7 separate regions of the Homo sapiens genome follow, and regions 1, 2, 3, 4, 6 and 7 are each linked to region 5. The links are contacts of gene promoters, found by promoter capture Hi-C in blood cells and fetal thymus (Javierre and others, 2016). All regions are on one chromosome and are shown on one strand. The core of a region is centred on a gene start or on the middle of the fragment in contact, and the rest is flanking DNA. Distances in the headings are between cores, read along the strand shown. Region 1 overlaps SP100 (SP100 nuclear antigen). Region 2 overlaps SP140 (SP140 nuclear body protein). Region 3 overlaps SP140 (SP140 nuclear body protein). Region 4 overlaps SP140L (SP140 nuclear body protein like). Region 5 holds the start of CAB39 (calcium binding protein 39). Region 6 has its middle 6.0 kb from the start of SP140L. Region 7 overlaps SP140 (SP140 nuclear body protein).

Region 1 (3,870 bases), core at 887-3,386, 290 kb before region 5:
CTTGTCTCTAAACCTTAAAAATGTAATTATTGAGGCAAAGGGTCCAGTTATTTACTTGGTCCTGCCAAATTGTCTTTCTAGGAGGCTGAATGAATGTATTTCACCAGTAGCAAATGAGATGAACCATCTTCCTGCACACAGCCACGATTTGCAAAGGTGATGAATGAAGAGTTATGTCTTGTTTTAATTTGTATTTTCCTTACGATGGGAAAATTGATCAGCTTTTCATGTTTCTTGGCCATTTAAATTCCCTCTTCTATAAATTGCTTGTTTGTTTTTTGCCAATATGATTCCGTTGAGGTGTTTGTCCTTTTTTTCGTGATATGGGAGAATTCACTAAATATTCTGTAAGTATAAATATACTTTTCTTGTCCATTACCTTTGTCTATGGTGACTTTTATCTTATTAAAGCTTAAAACTTAACATATAGGCCTCTTGTGATACAGATTTTTTTAAGATAGATGCACCCTTGTTATAAACGAGGTGATGCTGACACCCTCTGTGAGCACTCTTAGTTTTTACAATTATTTCTGTGTTAAGGTGGCAGATTCGCTGCTACCGCTATTCCAGGAAGAGTTCCTCCTCTAATATCTCTGAAAATTTTTTAAATTTTTAAACAAAAATATTCTTACATTGGAGCCACTTTAGCCTTCACAGCTTTTATTTGCCCCGTTTTCATCTTTTCAGTCTTTCACTTTGTGTTCATAATAGTTGTCTCAAACTTTTCCTCCATGACAATTATTTACCTTCTAGTAGGTTTCTTGTTTCTTGTCATTTCTAATTTTTTAAAAATTGATAGTGTTTATTTTTGAGGAGGGATCTTAATTGGTTTCTGTACGCCTGCAAGCTCCATAACCTCTTGTCATTCAGTCTTCACAGTCTTGCTTTATTTAGGTTTGCCTGTGCTGTTAAGAACTTTGGGATATTCTCCTTGTTGTCTCTTAGTTATTTTTCCAGACTGATTCTGTCTGATCTTGTGTTCCACGTGCCTGTGGTGGCTTTACAGCTCCTCTAGCCAGGCTTGGCCAGGGCAGGTCACCCCAAACTTCCCGTTTGCTTAGTCATAATCTGGATGAACTTTTTTTCTTTTTTTTTTTAACATTCCCTGTTTTATCTGAGATCAAATTGTTTTTTGTCTGAGCTACAGTTTGAAGTCTTTGTTTTGATTCTTATCAATTTTTCTGAGTTCACCGTTGATTGATTAAATTATCCTTTTCCCTGCTGATTCGCAGTGCTACCCTTTTTGGGAGTATAGAGGCAGGGTGTGCTTCTGTGTTCTCTCTTCTCTCCCCTTGGCCGGTGACAGCCCCTCCTTATGCCAGTACCACGCTGCCATAGTGATGGCAGCTTCCCAGGAACTCTTGACATCTGAGGGAGCAAATCTCTTCCTCTTCCTCCAGAATGTCTTAGACTCCCAAATTTGCCTGTCAAAATCTCGAGATTTTGTGTGGAACTGCACTGGATCTATAAATCAATTTGAAGAGAATGGACATCTTTACATTCACGAGACTTCCATCTCATGAATATGGTTTATGTATATTATTACTTTAAAAATGTCTCCTATTAAAATTTGTATTTTTCTCTCTGAAGGTTTTGCCCTTCTGCTAGATTCCTTCATAGATATTTGATATTTTTATGCCATTATTAACTAAAGTAGTCCTCCCTTATCAACAGTTTTACTTTCTGAGATTTCAGTTACTTGCAGTAAAACTTGGTCCAAAAACATTAAATGCAAAATTCCAGAAAACAATTCATGAGTTTTAAGATACTTGGCGTTCTGAGGAGTGTGATGAAATCTCATGCTGTCCCTCTCCATCCTGCCCAGGATGTGAACCATCCCTTTATCCAGGGTATCCACAGTGTAGACACTACCAGCCCATGAGTCGCTGAGTAGCTGTCCTGGTGATCAGATCGACTGTCCTGGTATAACAGAGCTTGTGTTCAAGGAACCCTTATTTTAGTCAATAATGGCCCCAAAGCACAAGAAGGTTGATGCTGGCAATTCAGATATGCCAAAGAGAAGCCGTCAAGGGCTTCCTTTAGGTGAAAATGTGAAATTTCCTGAAAGAAAAAAATAATATGCTGAGGTTGTTAATATCTACAGTATGATGTTTTGAGAGACAAAAAGAGACCACATTTACATAATTTTTATTACACTACATTGTTATAGTTGATCTACTTTATTATTAGATATTGTTATTCATCTTTTATTGTGCCTAATTTATGTACAGATTGGGGAAAACATAGTATATGCAGAGTTTGGTACTATCTGCGGTTTCAAGCATCCACTGGGGTTCTTGGAAGCATCCCCTGTGGATAGAAGGGAACTAGTGTGCTAAATTTTACATATGAATTTGCGTTGGTGACCCATGATCTGATCCATGGTTCTATTTTCATTCTTGTTTCAATACTGAAATGTTTTAGTTACTATGATTTTATAGGTAGTGTTCTGTAACCTACCTTACTGGGATTGAATTGAGAGACACTAAATGAACAGATAAATTTAGGAAGAATTTATGTTTTAAAAAAATCCTGAATGGCCCCAGTGAGAAACATAGTAAATCTCTCCATTTATTCATGATTGTTTGAACTTGGGACCTTGTTGGGTCGCTTTAGTTCTAGGCATTTTAAAATTGTATTTGTAAACAGGAATTCATTTTCCTTTTACATTTTCTAGTTATTTCTTGCTGGCATAAGGGAAATCTATTCATTTTAGTTAGCTGATCTTGTGCATAGGAGTCTTACTAAGTGGTCTTCTCCCTCTTAATATTGTCTTGTGTTTTTCTGGAGAAATAATTACATCTTCAAAGATAGTAGCAGCTTTGTCTCCTCTTTTTCAGAATTTATACCTGTATACTTTTCTTTTTCTTTCTTTTTTCTTTCTCTTTTGCCTTAGCGCATTAGCCAGGACTGCCAGTGTAATACTGAATAGTAACAGTAAAAATGAACATTTTAGTTTTATTCCTGATTTCAAGGGGAATACTTATAATGTTTAAATTGAGGCTTTCTTATAGACACCTTTTTTCAAGTTAAGGACATTTCCTGCTGGCTCTGGTTTACTAAAAGTTATTTATTTTAATCAGGCCTGTGTATAGGATATTTATCAAAATGCCTACTAAAGAATCTTTGAGAATTGTATCATTTTTCTCTTTTAATCTGATTTATCCACAGTAAATTATATTGAAACATTTTATTAATTCGGTTATTAATTTCACCAAAGTAAAACATATATATATATATAGCTTAAAGTATCAGTCAATAAGACCTTTAAAAACACAAGTAGTACTTTCTGCCATCTTCCCAGCCCATGTCCAGTTTCCCTAATGGATTAACTTTTTGGCTCTTACTTTTGTATTTACTTCTGTATTTTGAAATGATGTGCTGATACAGCTCTTTGTAATTTTTCAAGTTTCAGACATTAATCTGTTCACATAATAGGACAGAAGATGAAGACTTTTTCCATAACACTCCTTTTCATTCCCTGTCCATTCTCATAATACATCACAGTTGGAGGTTCATCAGTAATCAGTGTTACCATTATGATGACTATTTACATGTTGTTCATAACCAAGTCATCTACTATATTATGATTACATTTCCTTTCCTGTGCAACATCCTCCCGCCCCTCCCCGCCGACCCCACAAATAACTATTGCCCTCTTATATATTTGCTTGGATTTTGTGTGTCCTCATTATGAATTCTTCCCAAGCACTCTGCAGAATTCTAAAATTCTTTTCAGTACAGTGAGGCACATTGGGTAATTTATCAAGTCCATTTTACTTTCTTGGGGAAACCCTCCTGGAATTATCCATTCCCCTGATTCCATCAGTTCTGGTTAGTTTCAGCTTCCAAGGCTGACCTTGAAGCTTG
Region 2 (3,624 bases), core at 845-3,344, 440 kb before region 5:
AAAAGAATAAGATCATGTGCTTTGCAGGGACATGGATGGAGCTGGAGAGTATTATCCTTAGCAAACTAATGCAGGAACAGAAAACTGAACACCACATGTTCTCACTTATAAGTGGTAACGAAATGATGAGAACACATGAACACCTAGAGGAGAACAACACACACTGAAGCCTATCAGAAGGTTCAGAAGGTGAAGGGTTGGAGGAGGGAGAGGATCAGGAAAAATAACTAATAAGTATGAGGCTTAATACCTGGATGATGAAATAATCTGTATAACAAACACCCATGACACATGTTTAGCTTTGTAACAAACCTGCACATATATCCTTGAACTTAAAGTATAAAAAAAAAAAAAAATAGATGTGTGAATTCCTAGGAAAGATCTGTAGGGAAGCTTCATGTCTAATGGAGGAAATCAGAAATCCCCATGATATATGCAGGAGATCCATAAGACTCTTGAGGGTTTTGTACCAAGAGAAACAAAGATTTCCATGTCCTATCTCCTAGAACCTATAATCTGTTACTTTACATGGCAGAAGGGACTTTGAAGATGTAATTAAGTTAAGGATCTTGAGATAAGATCACATGGGCCACTAAAGTCAGAGAACATATCCTTCTGTCGAGAGAGGGATGTGTGACTATGGAAGAATGGTCAGAGAGAATAGAGCTGGATGTGGAGATGGATGCAGGGGTCCATCAACTAAAGAATGTGGGCAGCCTTCCGAAGCTGGAAAAGGCTCCTCTGTGGCCTCCAGAAAGGAGCAAAGCCCTGCAGACACCTTGATTGATTTTAGCCCTGTTAGGTGCATGTCAGATTTCCAACCCTCAGAATTATGAGACCACAAATCTGTGATTTTTTTGTCACTAAATTTATGGTAATTTATTACAGCAGCAATACCTTTTGTAAGACAAAAAAAAAATTTCACCCTATACGGTTATATTCAATCTTCTAAACTAACAATTTATATTTTTTCAAATTACTTACACCTTTATGCTTTTTTTTTCTGATTTTAAAATACTTGTTCCCTGTAAACTTTGCTGTACATATTTCTATATTTTTTTCTATGCTTTGTTAGCACATTTAGAATTATGTGATATATCTAAATGAATACATTTAAACTGTTACATTTCTTTTTAAATCAATATAACATGCACTGGATATTATAAACATTTAATATCTTGCCAACTTAACTGTAAAAAAAAGTTTTATTTCATTCCTGTTTTAACTTACATTGCTTTCATTTTTGGTGCAGTTGAGCATTCTTCATTTGTTATTGGCCATTTTTGTTTCTTCTCCTACGAGTGCCTGGAACTTATATTTTGCCAGTGTGTTGTCTTTTTTTCCCCATGCTTTAGGACAACAGGAATACTTATATATGATATATACTAAGGGTTGACTACGTGTGTTGTCATATTTGATGTTATTCTTTTACGTTTCTTTGTGGTATAGGCACATCTCGTTTGATTGCACTTCACTTTATTGTACTTTGAGGATATTGTGAGTTTTACAAATTAAATGTTTGTGACAACCCTGTGTCAAAAAAAGTCTGTTGGTGCCCTTTTTCCAACAGCATGTGCTCACTTTGTGTCTCTGTCACATTTTGGTAATTCTCGCAATATTTCAAATTTTATTATTATTCTTCTTCCTGTTATGGTAGTATGAACAGTGGTAACAATGATCTTTGATGTTACTATTCTAACTGTCTATGGCACCACACACTGTGTTCGTATAAGATGGCAAACCTAATAAATGTTGTGTGTGTTTCAACTGCTTCACTGACCAGCTGTTCCCCTGTCTCTCTCCCTCTCTTTGACTTTCCTCTTTCCTGAGACAAAAAAATATGGAAATTAAGTCAATTAATAATCCTACAATGGCCTCTAAGGGCTCAAGTTAAAGGAAGCGTCACATGTGTCTCACTTTAAATAAAAAGCTAGAAATGGTGAGGCTTAGTTAGGAAGCCATGTCAAAAGCTGAGAGGCTGAAAACTAGGCCTGTTGCAGCAAACAATCAGCCAAGTTATGAAGTGCTACTCCAGTGAACATACGAATAATAAGAAAGTAGAACAGTCTTATCGCTGATATGGAGAAAGTATGAGTGGTCTGGATAGAAGATCCAACCAGCCACAACATTCCCTTAAGCCAAGCCTTAATCCAGAGTGAGGCCTAAACTCTCCTCAATTCTATGAAGGCTGAAAGATGTGAGAAGCTGCATAAGAAAAGTTTGTGGCTAGCTGATGTTGGTTCCTGAGGTTGAAGGAAAGAAGCTGTCTCATAACATTAAAGTGCAAGGCGAAGCTGCAAATGCTGATGTAAAAGCTGCAGAAGGTTGTCCAGAAGATCTAGCCAAGATCCTAGATGAAGATGGCTACACTAAACAACAGTTTTACAGTGTAGACTAAACGGCCTTTTATTGGAAGAAGATGCCATCTAGAACTGTCATAGCTAGAGAGGAGAAGTCAATGCCTGGTTTCAAAGCTCCACAGAACAGGCTGAGTCTCTTGTTAGAAGCTAAGGCAGCAGGTGACTTTCCCTTGAAGCCAATACTCATTCACCATTCTGAAAATCCTAGGGCCCTTAAGAATTATTCTAAGTCTACTCTGCCTATGCTGTATAAGTAAAATAAAGCCCAGATCATAGAACATCTGTTTACAACATGGTTTACTGAGTATTTTAAACCCACTGTTGAGACATACTCCTCAGAAAAAAAGATTCCTTTCAAAATATTACTGTTCATTGACAGTGCACCTAGTCATCCAGGAGCTCTGATGGAGATGTACAAGGTGATTAGCATTATTTCCATGCCTGCTAACACAACGTCCATTCTGCAGCCCATGGATCAAAAAGTAATTTCAACTTGCAAGTCTTAATATTTAAGAAACACATGTTGTAATGCTATAGCTGTCTCTATACATAATGATTCTTCTGATGAATCTTGGCAAAGTCAATTGGAAACCTTCTGGAAAGGATTCACCATTTTACATGCCATAATAACATTCATGATATATGAGAGGAGGTCAAAATATCAACATTAACAGGAATTTAGAAGAAGTTGATTACAATCCTCGTGGATGACTTTGAAGTGTTCAACACATCAGTGAAGAAGTAATTGCAAGTGTGGCAGAAATAGCCAAGAGAACCAGAATTAGAAGTGGAGCCTGAAGATGTGATTGAATTGCTGCAATCTCATGATAAACCTTGAGTGGACAAGGAGTTGCTTCTTAAGAATGAGCAAAGAAAGCAGTTTCTTGAGATGGAATTTATACCTGGTGAAAATGCTGTGAACATTGTTGAAATGACAACAAAGGATTTAGAATATATTAGTTGATAAAGCAGCAGCAAGATTTGAGAGGATCTACCGTGATAAAATGCTACTCAATAGCATTGCATGCTACAGAGAAATCTTTCAGGAAGAGCCAATCAATTTAGCAAACTTCATTACTGTCTTATTTTAAGAAATTTCCACAGACACCTCAGCCTTCATCAGTCACCACCCTAGTCAGTCAGTAGCCACCAACATCCAGGCAGGACTTTCCACCAGCAAAGAGATTATGACTTACTGAAGGCTCAAGTGATCATGAGCATTACATTTAGCAATAAAGTATGTTTAAGATATGTTCATTTTATT
Region 3 (3,497 bases), core at 399-2,898, 470 kb before region 5:
CATTTCAAGACAGGAGATATAAAATGTCCAGCAAGAATATAAAGTGTATGACATTATTAATCATGAGGGAAATGCAAATTAAAGTTATAGTGAGATATCATTCACTCACTAGAATTGCTAAAATTAAAAAGACTGACAATACCAAGTGCTGATGAGAATATGGAACAATTGGACCTCCCATCCCTTGCTGGTAGGAATGTAAAATGATAACGACCACTTTGGGAAAGTGCCTGGCAATTTCCTATAAAGTTAAATCTAACCTATGATCTTGGCAGTTTCACTCCTAGGTATTTACATGAGAGAAATGAAAATATGTTCATGCAAAGATTTGTTTAAGAATGTTTATGGCAGCCTTATTCATAATAACTAAAATCTGGAACCAACCCAAATGCTCATCAACGGAGGGTAGATAAACTATGACTAATTTATAGAGTATAATACTATTCAGCAATAAAAAGAATGAACTGTTATCACATAGAGCAACATGGATAAATCTCAAAAACATTATGTTGAGCAAAATAAGCAAGTTGTAAGAGTACATACTGCATGATCCTATTTATATAAGTACAAGTACAGACAATACAGACAAGTACAGTGCCAGAAAGGAAGGCGCCATTGCTGGTGATAGGAACCAGAACAGTGGTGTCTTAAGCACAAAGCAATTTTCTGGGATGGTGGAAATGTTCTGAATCTTGACTGGGATGTTGGTTTCACAATGATTTACACTTAAGATATGTGCCTCTCAATGAAAAAAAGGGGAACAAGGCTCTGTTGGACCTCGGGGGTGGGAGATCCTGGGGCTTGGACATCAAGTTCATCTTGAGCACACTGAGGTCTCTCCTCTGGTCACTGTCTGAGTTTGGTAATTTTCACATTGTTTTCCTCAGTATGCTATGAACACTCACCTCTCCAAATGAATAATGTAAACGATTTAGAAGATAGACCCAGATTACTACCATATGGTAAACAAGGTAACTATCATTTAGCTGATCAATGCCCTTATTAAAGTTTTGCTTCCTTGCCTTCATGGAGGCAAATCTTGTATTTCCTCTCCTGTCTTAGCCCTCTGTTATCTCCCAGTCCTCCTCCCCTCACACAGCCATGTACCTGCCCTTATCTGCCAACAGATGTGAGAGAACCAATGAAAAAGGAGATCTGATCTCTTGAATAGATGGAGTCTCCATTGGTGGAGAATATAAGAAGAGAAAATGGGAAAGGTAGACAGAGAATAATACAGGACAAATTACATGAATGGATTCCATCTTCTAAAGGAACATAAAAGTCCTACCCTCCGAGGTTGAGATAAGGGGATTATTTTTAATTAATTTCATAGAACTATTAAGAGAAACTCAGAAATAACCTAAGCCATATCAGATTCAGGTGAGAGATATTCCTTACGGAGATGACCAGTTAGGGGTCTCTAGTACTGTGGTCACAGTCCAAGAGGGGAGTTTGGATATGGAGAGAGAGGGGAGCCTGAAAGATAGAATTGCGCAGGGAGACAAAACTGAAATAGTGTTGGCAGATAGAAGATCAAAGTGAAATGGGAGAAACAGAAATGGAAAGAGAGGAAGTATAAGACACAGCAGAGAAAAGGTAAACCGAAACATCTGCCAAGGATCAGAGGTAAAAATGGAGAGAGAAGTATATGGAAAAGGAAAGATGAGAGGAAAATAAATACCAAGAAATGGGGAAAGTAGAGAGGTACAGAGGCAACTATGTAGATAAAGAGTTAAGAAAAAAAGGGTGTAAAACACTTGAGAGTGAAAAGTGGATAAAAGGGAGAGAGAAACAGACTGGGACAGTGTAGGTTTGAGGTAAGAGCACTGGATATCCATAACTTTACAAGGGTTTATTCCATTAACCGTAAGTTTTCAGAATGAACTGTTCCCACATCAAAGTGGCACTTGCATGATACTCAGATTTCAATAGATCTCTCCCAGAATAGTCCAATGATTCCCAAGCACAAATCTCCACTCTAAATTATCTTTAGAGTACATTTATTCATGGACCTGAGGACCTTTACTCAAGGGTCAGATAGACATCTACACTTGATTTTTTTCAAGAACCTTAAACTTGGTACTTTGAGAACTGAAAGCCACATCTTCATTGCTCAAGTTAGATCGAACTCCTCTGCAGCACTCTTTCTCTCAGAGACGGATCACTATTATCCCATGGTTTTTCAAGTTGGAAACCTAGTCAAGTCATCATGGATGACTCCTCCCTTGCCCTCAAATACATGCCAGTTATGCAGCCAATGTAATCATTTCATCTTCAGGTTGCCCCTGGCCTGTCCATCTTTGCATCCCCAAGACCAGGTCTCTGGTCCAGATCTCCATCACCCTCATGATTCTCAGGGCAACATCCTTTGCTCATCTCCTCCCTCTAATCTTGCTTCCATCAAATGTGTTATTTGCACTTCAACTAGATGGGATATTTTAAAGTGCACATCAGATTGTATCATTTTCCTACTTACCTCCTTAATACACTAAGGATTAAATAAATGGGTTTTTAAGTAGCATCCAAAGGCATCCACAATGAGCCACCTGCTTACTTCTCCAGCTTAATCCCTGCCTCCTGAAATATTACTTCAAGGTGGAATAAAATTTCCCCCAATAATTTCAATTGTTAAATCTCTCTTTCAAACTGAGCCTTTCCCTATGTTTTCTCTATGCTGCCTTATTTAGAATTGTTTTCCTGTCCCACTATCCTCCATTTACCCTTCTCCAATCCAGCTAAATCCTACTTAGAATATATGATCAAAGGGAGGTCTTTCTTTAGAGAAAGCTAGAAAGGCACAATTGGGAGACCAAGGATGGGAGAGAAAGAGCAGTATCAGAGAAAGCAAGAGAAAAAATTTGCAGGAGCAGAGAAGAGAGAAATGCATCTAGGAAAGAGAGGCTCCAAGAAACATCCGCAGAAAAAAACAGAGGCAGAGATTGAGGAAATGTACAGAAACAGGTGGAAAGACATGAGTGAGAAAATGGGAAAGAGAACAAGGTATAAGGAAAGGAAGACTCCCCCACAGTGGATGAATTATTCTCAGCCTCTGGTGAAGGTTACTGAAGGACTGAATCCTCAGGTCAGGTTGTTTGGGGAGAGGGGACCTTCCAGATTATCAGGTTTTCTTAGTTTTCTCATTATTTGTTTTCTTGTTTTGATGGCTTTTTGACCATAAATCAAGACATCTAAGGGATTTCATTCCTTTCGGCAGAGAACAGCAATGCCTGTCATGAAATGGATGATATAGCAGTGCCTCAGGAAGCCTTGAGCTCCTCGCCAAGGTGTGAGCCAGGTAAGGAAGGAGTGACTTGCTCTCCCTGACCTGCAGGGTGTCAGGAGGTGGAATTCAGAGCTGGTGTTTCCTAATGCATTTTACTCTGAGTACATGCCACAGGCAAAAGATCCATTTTGTCCTTGGATCCTATAATTCTGCTAAATTTTCCTAAGTGTATGTTATAGTAGAAATATGCTAGAGAAGGATGATGTCTTTCATG
Region 4 (3,830 bases), core at 1,331-3,830, 350 kb before region 5:
CCACTTTATAATCTGTTTATTTGTTTTTGTTTTTTTTTTTAGTATGGAGTTGGTTGAGTTCCTTACATATTTTAGATATTAGCCCTTATCAGACATATGGTTTGCAAATATTTTCTCCCTTCTGTAGGTTGTCTCTTCACTCTGCTGATTGTTTCCTTGCCCATGCAGAAACTTTTTAGTTTGATGTAGTCTCACTTCTTTATTTTTGCTTTTGTGATTGTGTTTTTGGTGTCATACCAAAAACATAATTGCTCAGACCAATGTCATGGAGCTTTTCCCCTGTTTTCTTCCAGTAATTTTGCAGCTTCAGGTATTAAATTTAAATATTTAATCCATGTTGGGTTGATTTTTTAATATGGCATGAAATAGGGTCTAATTTCATTCTTCTGCACGTGAAGATCCAGTTGTCCCAACATCATTTATTAAAGAGACTGTCCTTTCCCCATTGCGTGTTCTTGGCACCTTTGTTGAAAATCAGTTGACCAAAAATGCATGGATTCAAGCTCTCTATTTTGTTCCATTTGTCTATGTGTCTATTTTATGCAAGTACCATGTTCTTTTGATTATTATAGCTTTGTAGTATATATTGAAGTCAGGTAGTGTGATGCTTTCAGCTTTGTTCTTTTTGCTTAAAATTGCTTTGGCTAGTTGGGGTCTCTTGTGCTTTTATACAAATTTTTAATTGTTTTTCTATTTCAGAAAAAAATGTCTTTGGAACTTTTATATGATTTGCGCTGAATCTTTAGAGCACTGTGGATAGTATGAACATGTTAAGAATATTAATTAATCCAATCCATGAACATGGGGTATCTTTCCATTTTTTGTTCTTCTTCTATTTCTTTAATCAACATTTTAGAGTTTTCAGTGTACAAATATTTCACCTCCTTGGTTAAATTTATTCTTAAGTATTTTCATTGTAAATTGGATTGTTTTATTGATGCCTTTTTCAGATAGTTCATTGTTAGCGTATAGAAATGCAACAGATTTTTTATGTTGATTTTGTATCCTGCAACTTTACCAAATTTATTAGTTCTAGCAGTTTTTTGGTAGAGTCTTCAGGGTTTTCTCTATATAAGATCATGTCATCTACAATTAAGAACAATTTAACTTCTTCCTTTCCACTTTGGATGTCTTTTATTTCTTTTTCTTGCCTAATTGTTCTGTCTAGGACTTGCAGTACTGTGTTGACTAGAAGTGACGAGAATGGACACCCTACTCTTGTTTCTGATCTTAGAGGGAAAACTTTCAACATTTTACTAATGACTATGATGTTAGCTGTAGGCTTGTCATATGTAGATGGTAGTGTTCTGAGGTACATTTCTTCTATAACTATTTTGTTGAAAATTTTTATCATGAAAAAAGTTGAATTTTGTCCAATGCTTTTTCTGCATCTATTGGGATAATCATATAATTTTTGTCCTTCATTCTATTAATGCAACGTATGACCTTTTAAGATTTGTGTGTTGAACCATCCATGCATCCCAGTGATAAAGCTTACTTGATCATGGTGAGTGTGCTGTTGAATTTGATTTGATAGTATTTTTTGAGGATTTTTCACATATGTTTATCAGGGATATCAGGGATATCATATATGTTTATCAGGGATACTGGCCTGTAGTTTTCTTTTCTTATAGTGTCCTTGCCTTACTTTGGTATCAGGGTAATGTTGGCTTCATAGACTAAGCCTACAAATAGACCCCTTATTCAATTTTTTAGACGAGTTTGAAAAGTATCAGTATTTATTATTTAAATGTTTGGCAGAATTCAGCAGTGAAACCATCTGGTCCTGGGCTTTTGTTTGATGGGTGGTATTCAATTCTGGATTACATCTCCTTATTCATTATTGGTCTGCTCAGGTTTTTATATTTGTGTTGGTAGGTTGTATCTGTCTAGGAATTTACCCATTTCTTCTAGGTTATCCAATTCTTTGGTGTATAATTGTTCATAGCAATCTCTTATGGTCCTTTGTATGTCTGTAGTATGAGTTACAGCGTCTTCTCTTTTATTTCTGATATTATTCATTTGAGTCTTTTCTTTTTTTTTAGTCTAGCTAAATGTTTGTCAATTTTGTTTACCTTTTCAAAAACCAACTCTGTTTAGTTTATCTTTTCATTGTTTTTCTAGTCTTTATCTCATTTATTTCTGATCTAATATTTATTATTTCCTTCTTTCTACTAATCTTGGCTTTAGTTTTCCTTTTTTGTCTGAAGTTTCCTAAGGTGTAACATTAGGCTGTTTGAGATCTTTCTTCTTTCTTGATGTAGGTGTTTATTGCTACAAACTCCTCTTCTTTGAACTGCTTTTGCTGTATCCCATCAGTTTTGTTATGTTGTGTTTCCATTTTCATTTGTCTCAATATTTTTTTAAATTTCCTTTTAATTTATTCATTGGCCTATTGGCTGCTCAAGAGTGTGTTTAATTTCCATGTATTTACAAAATTAAAAAACTCTTCTTGTTATTGATTTCTACTTTTATATCATTGTGGTCAGAAAAGATACCTGATATAATTTCAACCTTCGTGACTTTAAGTTTGTAGCCTAATGTATGATTTATCTTGGAGAATGTTCCATGTACAAGTGAGAAGAATGTATATTTCACTCCTGTAGAATAGAATGTTCTTTATGATGCTGTTAGGTCTATTTGGTATAAAATATAGTTTACATTTTATTTGTCTTTGTGGATTTTCTGTCTTAATGATCTATCCAGTGCTGAAAGTAGGGTATGAAAGTCTTTTACTATTATTGTATTACAGTCTGTCTCACCTACAAATCTATTAATATTTATTTAATATATATTTGGTTGCTCAGATGTTGGGTGCATATATATTAGTGTGCAATTATTATGTCATCTTAACAAATTGACTGCTTCATCATTATATAATGATCTTCTTTGTCTTGTTTTAGTATTCAATTTGAATTTATCTCATCTGATATAAGTATAGCTACTCCTTCCTTCTTTGGTTTGCATTTGCGTGGAATATTCACTTCTATCTTGTCATTTTCAGTCTATATGTATCCTTAAAAGTGAAGTGAGTGTCTTGTAGGCCATAGATACTTGAGTTTTTTTTTATTATTATTCATTCAGCCACTCTGTCTTTTGATTGGAGAATTTAATCCATACTTAACATAACTATTTATACTTAATATAATTATTGCTAGGCAAGTACCTACTACAACTATTTTGTTCATTGTTTTCTGGTTGTTTTGTGGATTATTATCTATTATTATTATTATTATTATTATTATTATTATTATTTTTGGAGACAGAGTCTCACTCTGTCACCCAGGCTAGATTGCAGTGGCATGATCTTGGCTCACTGCAACCTTCGTCTCCGGATTCAAGTAATTCTCCTGCCTCAGCCTCCTGAGTAGCTGGGACTACAGGCGCATGCCACCAAGCCTGGCTAATTTTTTGTATTTTAGGTGAGATGGGGTTTCACCATGTTACCCAGGCTGGTCTCGAACTCCTGAGGCAATCTGTCCACCTCGGCCTCCCAAAGTGCTAGGATTACAGGCGTGAGCCACCATGCCCAGCCTGCTTTGTAGATTCTTTATTCCTTTCTTTCTCTCTTCCTTCGTTTGTGATTAAGTGATTTCCTCTAGTGGTATGCTTTGACTCCTCTTTAGCTTTTGTGTAAATACTATAGGTTTTTGCTTTGTGGTTAACATGAAGCTTACAAAAAATATCTTATAGTTATAATAGGCTGTTTTAAGCTGATAGCCTACAAAAACTCTGTACTGTACTTTTACTCTAACTTCTCATTTTCTTTTCTTTTCTTTTTTTTCCTTTCTTTCTTTTTTTTCTTTTTTTTTTTTTTTGAGACAGAGTCT
Region 5 (3,899 bases), core at 683-3,182:
CCTTGGACTCCCAAAGTGTTGGGATTCCAGGCGTGAGCCACCTTTTAAACGTGTCTACAGGTGATCATTTTACTCTTCTACTGCCACCACCCTGGACAGAGCCTTATCTTTTTTTTTTTTTTTTTTTTTTTTTGAGATGGAGTCTCCCTCTATCGCCCAGGCTGGAGTGCAGTGGCGCGATTTCGGCTCACTGCAACCTCCGCCTCCCGGGTTCAAGCAATTCTCCAGCCTCAGCCTCCCAAGTAGCTGGGGTTATTTTTGTATTTGTAGTAGAGACGGGGTTTCAACATACTGGTCAGACTGGTCTCGAACTCCTGACCTCAGGTGATCCCCCTGCTTCGGCCTTCCAAAGTGCTGGGGTTACAGGTGCGAGCCACCACGCCCGGCCGGACAGTCTTATCTTTTGGCTGGCTGATTTCAACAGGCTTCTCGCTGGTCCCCCTGCTGAAACCCTCAGGGCTTTCAGTCTGGTCCTCATACCACAGCCACAGGGATCCTCCTGAAATGTCATTCCACGTCCTTTCTCTGCTCGCAACCCTTCAAATTGCTTCCCATCTCCTTGAGAGTAAAAACAGGAAGTCCTAACTTTGGTTGGTAGGGCCGCACTTCTTCCTCATCTCTTCCCCTATCTGGGGCCGCTTTCAAGCCAGCAGATTCTCGCCTCAGGGCCTTGGTCCTGCTATTCCCTCTGCCTTTCCATACAGAAAGCTCCCAGGCTCTCTCTCTCCAGGAAGCTGCTCCCTGAATGAACACTGTAAATAACAACACCCTGCTTTCTCTCCCCTCCTCACCCAGTGGTGTTTTTAACTGTCCAGTATTTGTTTTTTTGTTGTTGTTTTTTGTTTGTTTTGTTTTTGTTTTTTGGAGATAGTCTCGCTGCGTCGCCCAGGCTGGAGTGCAGTGGCGCGATCTCGGCTCACTGTAACCTCCGCCTCCCGGGTTCAAGCGATTCTCCTGCCTCAGCCTCCTAAGTACCTGGGAATACAGACGCCCGCCACCACGCCCGGCTAATTGTTTTTTGTATTTTTAGTAGAGATGGGGTTTCACGGTGTTGGCCAGGCTGGTCTTGAACTCCTGACCTCGTGATCCGCCCACCTCGGCCTCCCAAAGTGCTGGGATTACAGGCGTGAGCCACCGCGCCTGGCCCAATTGTCCAGTATTATACATACCTGTAGGTTTATTAGTCAATTATTTGTCAACTGTTTGTGCTAGGAGCATGGACTGTTTCGCTCACTGCCCCATCCCTGACGTACAGGAGGCGCTTAAAAAGTAGTTCAGTTACACATTAAAAACAAAGAAACAAAAATACACACATATGGCATTTGTATGTGCCAGGCTCCGTTGTCAGAGCTTTGCAATGCACTGTCCCGTTCATCCTCAGAAGCCCGTGGCTGGTACCACTATATTATTACACACTTTTTTTTTTAATGTGTGAGGAAATCCAGGCACAGGGACGTGAAACAGCCCATAGATAGCAAATGGTGGAGCAGGACTTAAATCCAGGTTGCTGATTTAAATAGGAATATTCCCATTAATCTGGAACGTTCTGGCACTTGTCCCCCTGGATGCTGTGTCCCCCTGGATGCTAAAATGAAGCGATCTGCTCCAAGAAAGTAAGAATCGGTCTGCACAAAGTGGGATCCCGGCCTCTCGCAGAATTAAGCTTGAAGAGTTGAGGAAGTGGTCGTTGAAAGTGGGCGTGCGATTCCCGCAGTAAGAGCGCTCAGGCGGAGGAGAAAGGGCTGAGCCCCGCCTTGGAAGCTGCGGCGGAGGAAGAGGAACTGCGGGGCTTGGCTTCTGCTTTTCTCTGCGGCCCCTCCCGCTCGGGCCTCGCGCCTACTTGCGGCGCCCTGAGTCCGCCGGCCGCTCGGGGGCGCCCGAGGCGGAAGGGGGCGTTGCGGCACCGCCCGACGTCGCGTCCTCGGCGGCTGCGCAGTGCGCACGTCAAAGCCGGGCTCGGGCCGCAAGCGGGGCGAGGGGTTCGGGGAGCGGCGCGGCCTGGGAGACACAGAGCCTTCAGGCGCCGGGGCGGGGGCACAGGCGAAGACTAAGGCGGCGCCGGGCCCCACAGCAGCAGCCGCAGCCCAAGCGAGCGCAGCAGCGCGGCGGCAGCCGCGGGAGCCCCTGGGCAGCCGTCCGCCCGCGCAGCCGCCGCCGCCGCGGGAGCCCGTCGCCGGGAGCAGGAGCGGGCGGAAGACAACGGAGGGGCCGAGCGTCCGAGCCACTCCGCGGGGACCGAACGAGCAGCCCGAAGCGGCGGCGGCCGAGGACGGGGACAGCGACGACGCGGAGGCAGAGAAGGGAACGCCCGGCCCAGCCCCGTGAGTGACCCCCGGCCGGCCCTGCTCGTGGTGCGGACGCCTGCCCGGCTTCCGCCTGCCCCGCTGGGCCCTCACCGGCCCCGGGGCTGCCTCCATTTTCCTGGGTGGCGGCGGCCCCGGCCCAGCTTGTCCCCGGAGCCCCCGGGAGCAGCCGGGCCCAGCCTGCCCTCTCCGCCCGGCTCGGCTCCGGTCCCTCGCTGAGACGCTCCCTTTGCCTTCGCCGGCGTGGGGCGCCCGGGGGCCTGCAGTCCAGGCGCTCCTGCCTCTCCCCCCGTGGTTCTCTGGCGGGGCTGGCGGCGCGTGGTGGTCCGGGCCGGAGTCGGGCGGGCGGGGAAGTGCGGGCCGGGTCAACTGTCACCGGCTGCACCCGGGCTTCAGCGCCTCGCTCCCGCCCCTGGTAAACTTCCTGTTGTCGGGAGGCAGATACCAGCTTTGTGACCAATTCAGGAAAATGCCTAACTGATTTCTGGTTAGGAATTGGGCGGTCGGAGCGTTCTGGAGTTCAATGGAACCACCCCAAGCGCAGACTGCGTGCAGGCGCCGTAGTCGGCCCGCACCGGAGGGATTCAAAGGTGAAGCGGGCCCCGGTCCCCTCCCCCGAGGAGCTTAGGCTCTGGTGTGAGAGATAAGACGAGAACACAAATAACTGCGATACCGGGAAGGAGGTGATAAGTCCTGTGAAAGAACGACGGAGTGCTAGAACGGCACCCGGAAAAACCGAACCGATCACTTCTGCCTCGCAGAAACCTGGAAGGCTTCCTGGGCGGGGGATGCTGAGCAGAGTCTTGAAGGCCTGATGGGATTTAGGAGAGGAGGATTGCAGAAGAGGTGTGTGGAAGGGGTAGCAAAAGCGAGAAGACAAAGCCTAGAAATCATGGATAATTCCGTTTGTTGGCATGGTGCAGGGGGCGGGGGGTATTGGGCTAAAGAGGTATTTTGGGGCCAGATCCTTGAATGCTGTAGAGGAGCTATTTGAGCAGCATTCTAAGAGAAACTTAGAGCTCATTTCTCAGTGACTCATGAGCCCGGAAATGTAGGCTAGGGGATATTAAAGGCGCTCTTGTGAAAGGAGAGAGGAGGAGGCCCAGTCAGGAGTTGACATTCTGTGCCTTGAATGTAATGCAGTTTCAGATCGATTTTGACAGCTTCCCAGATAATCAAGTAAATCCATGCCCAGGCTAAGCAAAGTACCTTTGCAGAAAGCTTCATTAGATATCAGGCTCTTAAGAGGTAATGGAAAGGTGTCTATAAAATAAGCTCATCTGCACACAGAAGGTGTTTCTATTTGTGCGTTCGCTACAGTGCATAAAAACTTCTTGCACTTTGTATTAGGCGTATGTACTTTGGAATTACTAAGCTAAACCTACATTCTTTGAGGTGGCATTTGTGTAAAATAACATAAATTGATGATTTTTAAAAAATGGTTAGTAATATTCTGCTGTAGAAAGCCAGACGTAGACCTTTTACAGAAAGGTAAAACTTTGTTTTTATATTTTATTTTATTATGAAATCTTTATAGTAGAGCCAGAAGTGAAAGTGTTTAGCTTTATTTTGTAGTTTGTTCAAATTGTTAGGAAG
Region 6 (3,370 bases), core at 94-2,593, 390 kb before region 5:
GATCTCAGGACCTCGAGTCTTGGCCATATAATGATGTAGCCACCACTTCTGGCTCTCTCTCTGGTGTCTGTGTTCACTCCTCTGAGTCTCACAGAATGGGATTGTGCCCATGGCTGGTGCACTCTGCATGCCAGTGGACATGTCTGCTCTTAGATGGTTTTGTAACATCTGTGTCAGTACATGTGGCCCAGAGTGCTGTACAGGAGCTGGCTGGTGCTTTTTGTTTTGTGCTTATTCAGGAAATACAAGAAATAACTCCTGGGTTCCTGCATTGTGCCATTGTCTGAATGATAAATGGTAAATCCCAGCCCCACTTCCTCATGCTCCCCAGTGGGGAAGGACCCAATTTCCAATTCCAAATTCTTACAAGCACAGCTCAAGAATACCATTATTGTCATCACAGCTGAGCCTGGAATCCAGGCTCTGAGATAAATGCGAGCCCCTCACTTCCATAGCTCCACATTCAATGGGCTGAACATCCTCTAGAATTATTCATGAGAGAGGGTGTAATAGGCCATAGATGGTATGTGTTGGGAGTGCAGAGGGGTCTCCAATTCTCTCTGGAAAGGAGGGTGTCACCTACTAGACTGAGTCCACTGGCCATTCTCAACTGGCTAGTAGCTGCATAAGTGGATCTGTCAGGGAACTTACCCTTTATTCCCCTATACATCAAGAAAATGGATCAGTAGCAGATGAGATGGATGAGTTTTCTTTTTTTTATTATTATTATACTTTAAGTTCTAGGGTACATGTGCACAATGTGCAGGTTTGTTACGTATGTATACATGTGCCAGGTTGGTGTGCTGCACCCATTAACTCGTCATTTACATTAGGTATATCTCGTAATGCTATCCCTCCCCACTCCCCCCACCCCATGATAGGCCCCGCCCAGTGTGTGATGTTCCCCACCCTGTGTCCAAATGTTCCCATTGTTCAATTCCCACCTATGAGTGAGAACATGTGGTGTTTGGTTTTCTGTCCTTGCGATAGTTTGCTCAGAATGATGGTTTCCAGCTTCAGCTATGTCCCTACAAAGGACATGAACTCATCCTTTTTTATGGCTGCATAGTATTCCATGGTGTATATGTGCCATATTTTCTTAATCCAGTCTATCATTGTTGGACATTTGGGTTGGTTCCAAGTCTTTGCTATTGTGAATAGTGCCGCAATAAACATACATGTGCATGTGTCTTTATAGCAGCATGATTTATAATCCTGTGGGTGGAAAAAACTAAAGTTCATATGGAACCAAAAAAGAGCCCACATTGCCAAGACAATCCTAAGCCAAAAGAACAAAGCTGGAGGTATCACGCTACCTGACTTCAAACTATATTACAAGGCTACAGTAACCAAAACAGCATGATACTGGTACCAAAACAGAGATATAGACCAATGGAACAGAACAGAGCCCAGAAATAATACCACACATCTACAACCATCTGATCTTTGAGATGGATGAGTTTTCAACTTCAATGTCATTGTTGTGGGAATCAGCACAACTGTGTCAGTATGTTGTCCAGAAAGACATTGGACCAGAAGGCCCTGGAGGCCACCTGCTCCCCAAAACTTGTTCCACTTGACAGTTTTACAGCCCACCTGGCCCTGACAACCTCATCCCAAGGTGAGACACAAGATTCCCAGCAAAGCCTGGTTCCCAGGGCCATTTCATGGCCTGGCCAGACCAGGTGGTCCTGTGCTAGTGGGCTGGGGCCCTATATGATGCCAACCTGTTCCCTGGGCACAGCATTTGTACCCATGAAAAGCACGTGCACCAGTTATGAGAAATGCACAGGGCTGTCCCACCAAGCTCCCACCGCTTGGCCCTGGTGAGAGCTCATTAGACTTTATTTTGGATTTCTCCTAGACCAGATCTGTTATGACTGACAGGCTAAAAAGACCCACCTCATCCTCAAAACAGGGTTTTCTCAGCCCTTGCTAGGCACAGGTGCCCTGGGAGAACCCCCCCTAGTGGTCCAGTCAGCTGTTTCCCACCCACATTTCCAGGAGGAGCACCTGTGGAAAGGCAGACTCCACCCCTTCCCTGCACATCTCCTCCAGACCATGGTTGGCAGATGGGCATTGGCCTTTGCTAGAACTGTACTTCCTGTCTCATAATCTCTAAATCTTCATGAAGCTACACTTTCCACCCCACTCTTCCTTTGTTCAGCAACACTGAGGTCCTTGCCAGGTACCCTGTTCTTCATAGGAGCACCCACTTTCCAGCCCAAAGAAATGAAAGTTGCTGCCCATGAGGTGCTGGTGGACACCATCTGGATGGTCCACGAGGTACTCTCCTTCTCTCACCACACATGCATCACCTGGCAGTCCTAAGATCTAGGATAGTCCAGGGACCATTCCATTCCAGCTCACTGTGCTGAAACTAGTAGACACATGGAGGTTTGCAGAAATATTAGGAGTGAGGACTTGTTAAAAGGCTGCACATTTCGTTGAAGCCTTTGCTGCCTCCAGCCCCAGCCTCCAGGTTCTCTCCACTCCTGGTGGTGCCCAGCCCAGCATTGTTGGGACCCTGAAGCTCACAAGGAGACCTCAGTCCCACCACAGCTCAGAAGACATTCCTCCACCTTTCTGAGGGCAGGTTTGACCCCACAGCCTTAGTTCCACCCTTGTGGGGTACATCCAACATGGAGCTGCCTGGTTCCAAATATCCGATGATAGCTGATATTTGTGCTAATGGGGACCCACTGGTGAACACAGGAAGATGCCATCAGGAATCTCCAGAATGTGAAACGTGGTGAACCTGTAGAGAGTCGTTCTTTTTCAGTCCAGCAGTTGGGGCTCAAAGGGAAGCTAAGACTCAGAGGAGCCCTGTGACAGAGCAGGAGCACCATCATCTTGGACAAACACCACAATTTTAAGTTCACCTTAATTAAAAAGCCCCCTAAATCCAGCCCAAAAACATCAGCCTAATGGCTAATGTCAGCATAACCAGAAACATTCCAACCCTAAGATAAGCCACCCCCCTCCAACCAGAAACATGCCAACCCTGAGACAACCTCCCCTCCCACCAGAGACATTCCAACCCCACAATAAACCTTCTCTCACATGGAAACATTCCCAGCCTGCTATAAGCTCCCCACTTCCTAAACCCTTAGATACCCTTAGTCAGTAAGAGAAAATGCTCCTGACCAAAACTGACCAGAATCCCCTCTCAGGTTTATTCTCCAAAATAAACCTGTCTTTAACTGTTGAGCCACTTTTCATGTTTCTTTCCCCTTTCTTTAACTCTTACACCCTGAGGGTAAAGGAAGGTGAAGCTCTTTCCCCTCATTCAGGGAGACTGGGTTTGGGGTGGGGGACATTGCCACACTTGTCTGGATGAAACGCACTACATGAAACCTCATGTCTTCTA
Region 7 (3,398 bases), core at 498-2,997, 410 kb before region 5:
GCAGGACTAACTTGCTCCTCCTACTCAGATGGACAGAACAGCGTGTTGAGACTCACACTGTGAACTTTTGCTCCAAGAACCACTGCAGGAATATACCAGCAAAACTGAAGGAAGTCACACACCCTTTAAAAGAAGTGGCTTGCCACCGCAAACTCTGGGAGATAGCCAAAAAACCGTGAGTCCTCAAAGTGTGAGAGGGAAAAAGTCCACCTCTGAACACATATCCTCACTGGGGAACCTGGAAATCCAGATCACAGGAGAAGGATTTCACCTAACCTAGAGCTGAAATGAATTTAGAAAGCTGGGTGAAATATAAAAGTAGAATAAGCAGCAGGAAGAGGTGCCTTCCCCAAGGATCCCTATAAGCATTTCAGTCCCCAGGGAAGCCATTTCTGACTTTATCTCACAGTCCTTGGGGAGGGCAGCCAGTACAATTTGCAGAGAGCCATGGGGAGAAGGAGGCTTCCAGCTGAACTTTGTAATAATTTTAACCAAGCACAAATTTTCCTGGTCAGAATCTGGGGGTGTGAACCTGAAGTACAGATATAAGTGCAGAAGCCATGGCAGGCAGGGAGGGGTGAGATCTGAAAGCCCTGCTTGCTTTCTCAATGGGGGTGCTTCTTCCTGGGGCAAGATCTTAGCTCCAGGCAAAGGATGCCTGGATATAAATTTGGCTCTGTTGGCTGTTGGGCACCACAGCGGGAGTGAGACTGGCCTTGCTGGCTGCCTGGGTGCTGGGTGAAGCCTGTCACTGCCGGCTTCCCTTACTTATCTGGTGAACTGTATGAAGCAGCAGAGGCAGGCATAATCCCCTCTGGAACATAAATCCATTGGCCTGCAAGCCACCCCTCATCCCCCACAGTGGCCACAGCAAGCCCTGTCTGAGAATCTGAGCTCAGACACACCTAACCCTGCCCCCAGCTGATGGTCTTTCTCTACCTGCCCCTGTAGCTGAAGACAAAAGACAGGGGCTCATGGGAGCTCTATGACCTCACCCATCACCTGAGAAAACCGAATACTTATCCAGTGAACTTAGGTCAAGCTTGTATCCCCCTCATATTACTTGCAGCTGATGGTCTCTTGAAAGTGCCACCTCCTCGCCGAAGGTCAGCCAACTCAAGTCATTACAGACACTCATACGAGAACCACCTTGCTCCAGGAAGGAGAAAACAACAACTAATTATACTGCCTGTAACATCCTGGCTAACCAAAGATCCTGAGTCTGTCCCTGTAACAACCTCACTGCTAGCATAACCAACATTTGAGAAAACCAGTGTACTAAACAAAACTACAATCAAGGACTCTCACAGAATCCACTTCACTCCCCTGCTACCTCCACTGGAGCACGTGCTGGTACCCATGACTGGGAGAACTGAAGACAGATCACATCACAGGACCCTTTGCAGATACTCCCCAGTACCAGCCCAGAACCCAGTAGCTCTTCTGGGTGGCTAGACCCAGAAGAGCAATAACAATCACAGCAGTTTGGCTCTCGGGAAGCCCATCCCTAGGGGAAGGGGGAGAACACCACATTAAGGGATCACCCTGTGGAACAAGAGAATCTGAACAGCAGCTCTTGAGTTTCAGATCTTTCCTCTAACGTAGTCTACCCAAGTGAGAAGGAACCAGAAAAACAATTCTGATAATGACAAAACAAAGTTCTATAACACCCCCAAAAGATCACGTTAGCTCACCAGCAATGGATCCAAACCAAGAAGAAATCTCTGAATTGCCAGAAAAAGAATTCAGAAGGTCAATTATTCAGCTACTCAAGGAGACACCAGATAAAGGTGTAAACCAACTTAAAGGAATTAAAATAATAATACAGGATATGGATGAAAAAGTCTCCAGAGAAATAGATATCATAAATAAAAATCAATCACAACTTCTGGAAGTGAAAGACATACTTAGAGAAATACAAAATACACTGGCAAGTTTCAACAATAGACTAGAACAAGTAGAAGAATGAACTACAGAACTCGAAGACAAGGCTCTGGAATTAACCCAATCCAACAAGAAAAAAGAACTTTTTAAAAATGAACAAAGCCTCCACGAAGTTTAGGATTATGATAAATGACCAAACCTAAGAATAATTTGTGTTCCTCAGCAAGAAATCTAAAAGTTTGGAAAACATATTCGCGGGAATAATCAAAGAAAATGTTGCTGGCCTTTCTAGAGATTTAGACATCCAAATACAAGAAGCTCAAAGAACATCTGGAAAATTCATCACAAAAAGATAATCACTCAGGCAGAGTCATCAGGTTATCTAAAGTTAAGATGAAGGAAAGAATCTATGAAGCAAAAACATCAGCTAAACTACAAAGGAAAACTTATCTAATGATTAACAGCAGACTTCTCAGCAGAAACCCTACAAGCTAGAAGGCTTTGGGATCCTATCTTTAGCCTCCTTAAACAAAATAATTATCAGCCAAGAATTTTGTATCCAAGAAACTAAGCTTCATAAATGAAGGAAAGATAAAGTCTTTTTCAGACAAACAAATGCTGAGAGAATTCACCACTACCAAGCCAGTGCTACAAGAACTGCTAAAAGGAGTTCTAAATCTTAAAACAATATATCAAAATATACCAAAATAGAACCCCCTAAAGCATAAATATCACAGGCCTATTAAAAAATAACACAATGAAAAAAATAAGGTATTCAGGCAACAGCTAGCATGATGAATAGAATAGTACCTCACATCTCAATACTAATGTTGAATGTAAATGACCTAAATTCTTCACTTAAAAGATACAGAATGGCAGAATGGATAGGAATTTACCAGGCACCTGCTGTCTTCAAGAGACTCACCTAACACATAAGGACTCACATAAACTTAAGGTAAAGGGGTAGAAAAAGATATGCCATGCAAATGGACACCAAAAGCGAGCAGGAGTAGGTATTCTTACATCATACAAAACAGACTTTAAAGCAACAACAGTTAAAAAAGACAAAGAGCGACCTTATATAATGATAAAAGGACTAGTCCAACAGGAAACTAGCACAATCCTAAATATGCACCTAACTGTGGAGTTCCCAAATTTACAAAACAATTACTCACTTTGGGAGGCCGAGGTGGGTGGATCACAAGGTCAGGAGATCAAGACCATCCTGGCTAATGCAGTGAAACCCCATCTCTACTAAAAATACAAAAAAAAAAAAAAATTAGCTGGGCGTGGTGGCAGGCACCTGTACTCCCAGCTACTCAGGAAGCTGAGGCAGGAGAATGGCATGAACCCAGGAGGCAGAGCTTGCACTGAGCCAAGATTGCACCACTGTACTCCAGCCTGGGCAACAGAGTGAGACTCCATCTCAGAAACAAAAACAAAAACAATTTCTACTAGACCTAAGAAATGAGATAGATGGCAACAGAATGATACTGGGGGACTTCAGTACTCTG

Evidence for each region. Contacts are between HindIII fragments. The CHiCAGO score rates a contact against its expected background, and 5 or more counts as called.
Region 1: a contact is called between a fragment that was not itself captured here and the fragment with the promoter of CAB39 in region 5, in 2 of 17 cell types (non-activated CD4 T cells and naive CD4 T cells). The highest score is 6.2, in non-activated CD4 T cells.
Region 2: a fragment that was not itself captured here is called in contact with the fragment with the promoter of CAB39 in region 5 in 2 of 17 cell types (total B cells and naive B cells); the score reaches 8.3 in total B cells.
Region 3: a contact is called between a fragment that was not itself captured here and the fragment with the promoter of CAB39 in region 5, in 2 of 17 cell types (naive B cells and total B cells). The highest score is 6.8, in naive B cells.
Region 4: a contact is called between a fragment that was not itself captured here and the fragment with the promoter of CAB39 in region 5, in 3 of 17 cell types (naive B cells, activated CD4 T cells and total B cells). The highest score is 5.8, in naive B cells.
Region 6: a fragment that was not itself captured here is called in contact with the fragment with the promoter of CAB39 in region 5 in 5 of 17 cell types (total B cells, total CD8 T cells, non-activated CD4 T cells and 2 more); the score reaches 7.1 in total B cells.
Region 7: a contact is called between a fragment that was not itself captured here and the fragment with the promoter of CAB39 in region 5, in 1 of 17 cell types (naive B cells). The highest score is 6.9, in naive B cells.

The regions. Positions count from the first base shown.
Region 1 is chr2:230,417,510-230,421,379 of GRCh38, forward strand. It overlaps SP100 (SP100 nuclear antigen), which reads left to right. Exons shown (of 29, transcript NM_001080391.2): 2 at 82-156. Among named protein-coding and RNA genes, the nearest start is that of SP100, 3.2 kb to the left of the region's middle. The HindIII fragment of the contact is 3,455 bases long and covers 410-3,864 here.
Region 2 is chr2:230,273,771-230,277,394 of GRCh38, forward strand. The region is part of intron 15 of SP140 (SP140 nuclear body protein); the gene reads left to right. Among named protein-coding and RNA genes, the nearest start is that of SP140, 50 kb to the left of the region's middle. The HindIII fragment of the contact is 3,406 bases long and covers 392-3,624 here.
Region 3 is chr2:230,240,517-230,244,013 of GRCh38, forward strand. SP140 (SP140 nuclear body protein) reads left to right here. Exons shown (of 27, transcript NM_007237.5): 4 at 888-971; 5 at 3,215-3,295. Among named protein-coding and RNA genes, the nearest start is that of SP140, 17 kb to the left of the region's middle. The HindIII fragment of the contact is 7,592 bases long and covers 1-3,497 here.
Region 4 is chr2:230,363,493-230,367,322 of GRCh38, forward strand. The region is part of intron 5 of SP140L (SP140 nuclear body protein like); the gene reads left to right. Among named protein-coding and RNA genes, the nearest start is that of SP140L, 38 kb to the left of the region's middle. The HindIII fragment of the contact is 2,179 bases long and covers 1,492-3,670 here.
Region 5 is chr2:230,710,910-230,714,808 of GRCh38, forward strand. CAB39 (calcium binding protein 39) reads left to right here and starts at 1,933. Exons shown (of 9, transcript NM_016289.4): 1 at 1,933-2,321. It overlaps LOC124907996 (formin-like protein 16), which reads right to left and starts at 2,417. Exons shown (of 4, transcript XM_047446832.1): 1 at 1,170-2,417. The coding sequence starts at 2,417. The coding sequence ends at 1,659. RefSeq lists a silencer at 1,705-2,644. The HindIII fragment of the contact is 1,861 bases long and covers 1,662-3,522 here.
Region 6 is chr2:230,319,539-230,322,908 of GRCh38, forward strand. No RefSeq gene overlaps it. Among named protein-coding and RNA genes, the nearest start is that of SP140L, 6.0 kb to the right of the region's middle. RefSeq lists an enhancer at 1-88. The HindIII fragment of the contact is 4,319 bases long and covers 1-3,370 here.
Region 7 is chr2:230,299,082-230,302,479 of GRCh38, forward strand. The region is part of intron 22 of SP140 (SP140 nuclear body protein); the gene reads left to right. Among named protein-coding and RNA genes, the nearest start is that of SP140L, 26 kb to the right of the region's middle. The HindIII fragment of the contact is 1,414 bases long and covers 1,041-2,454 here.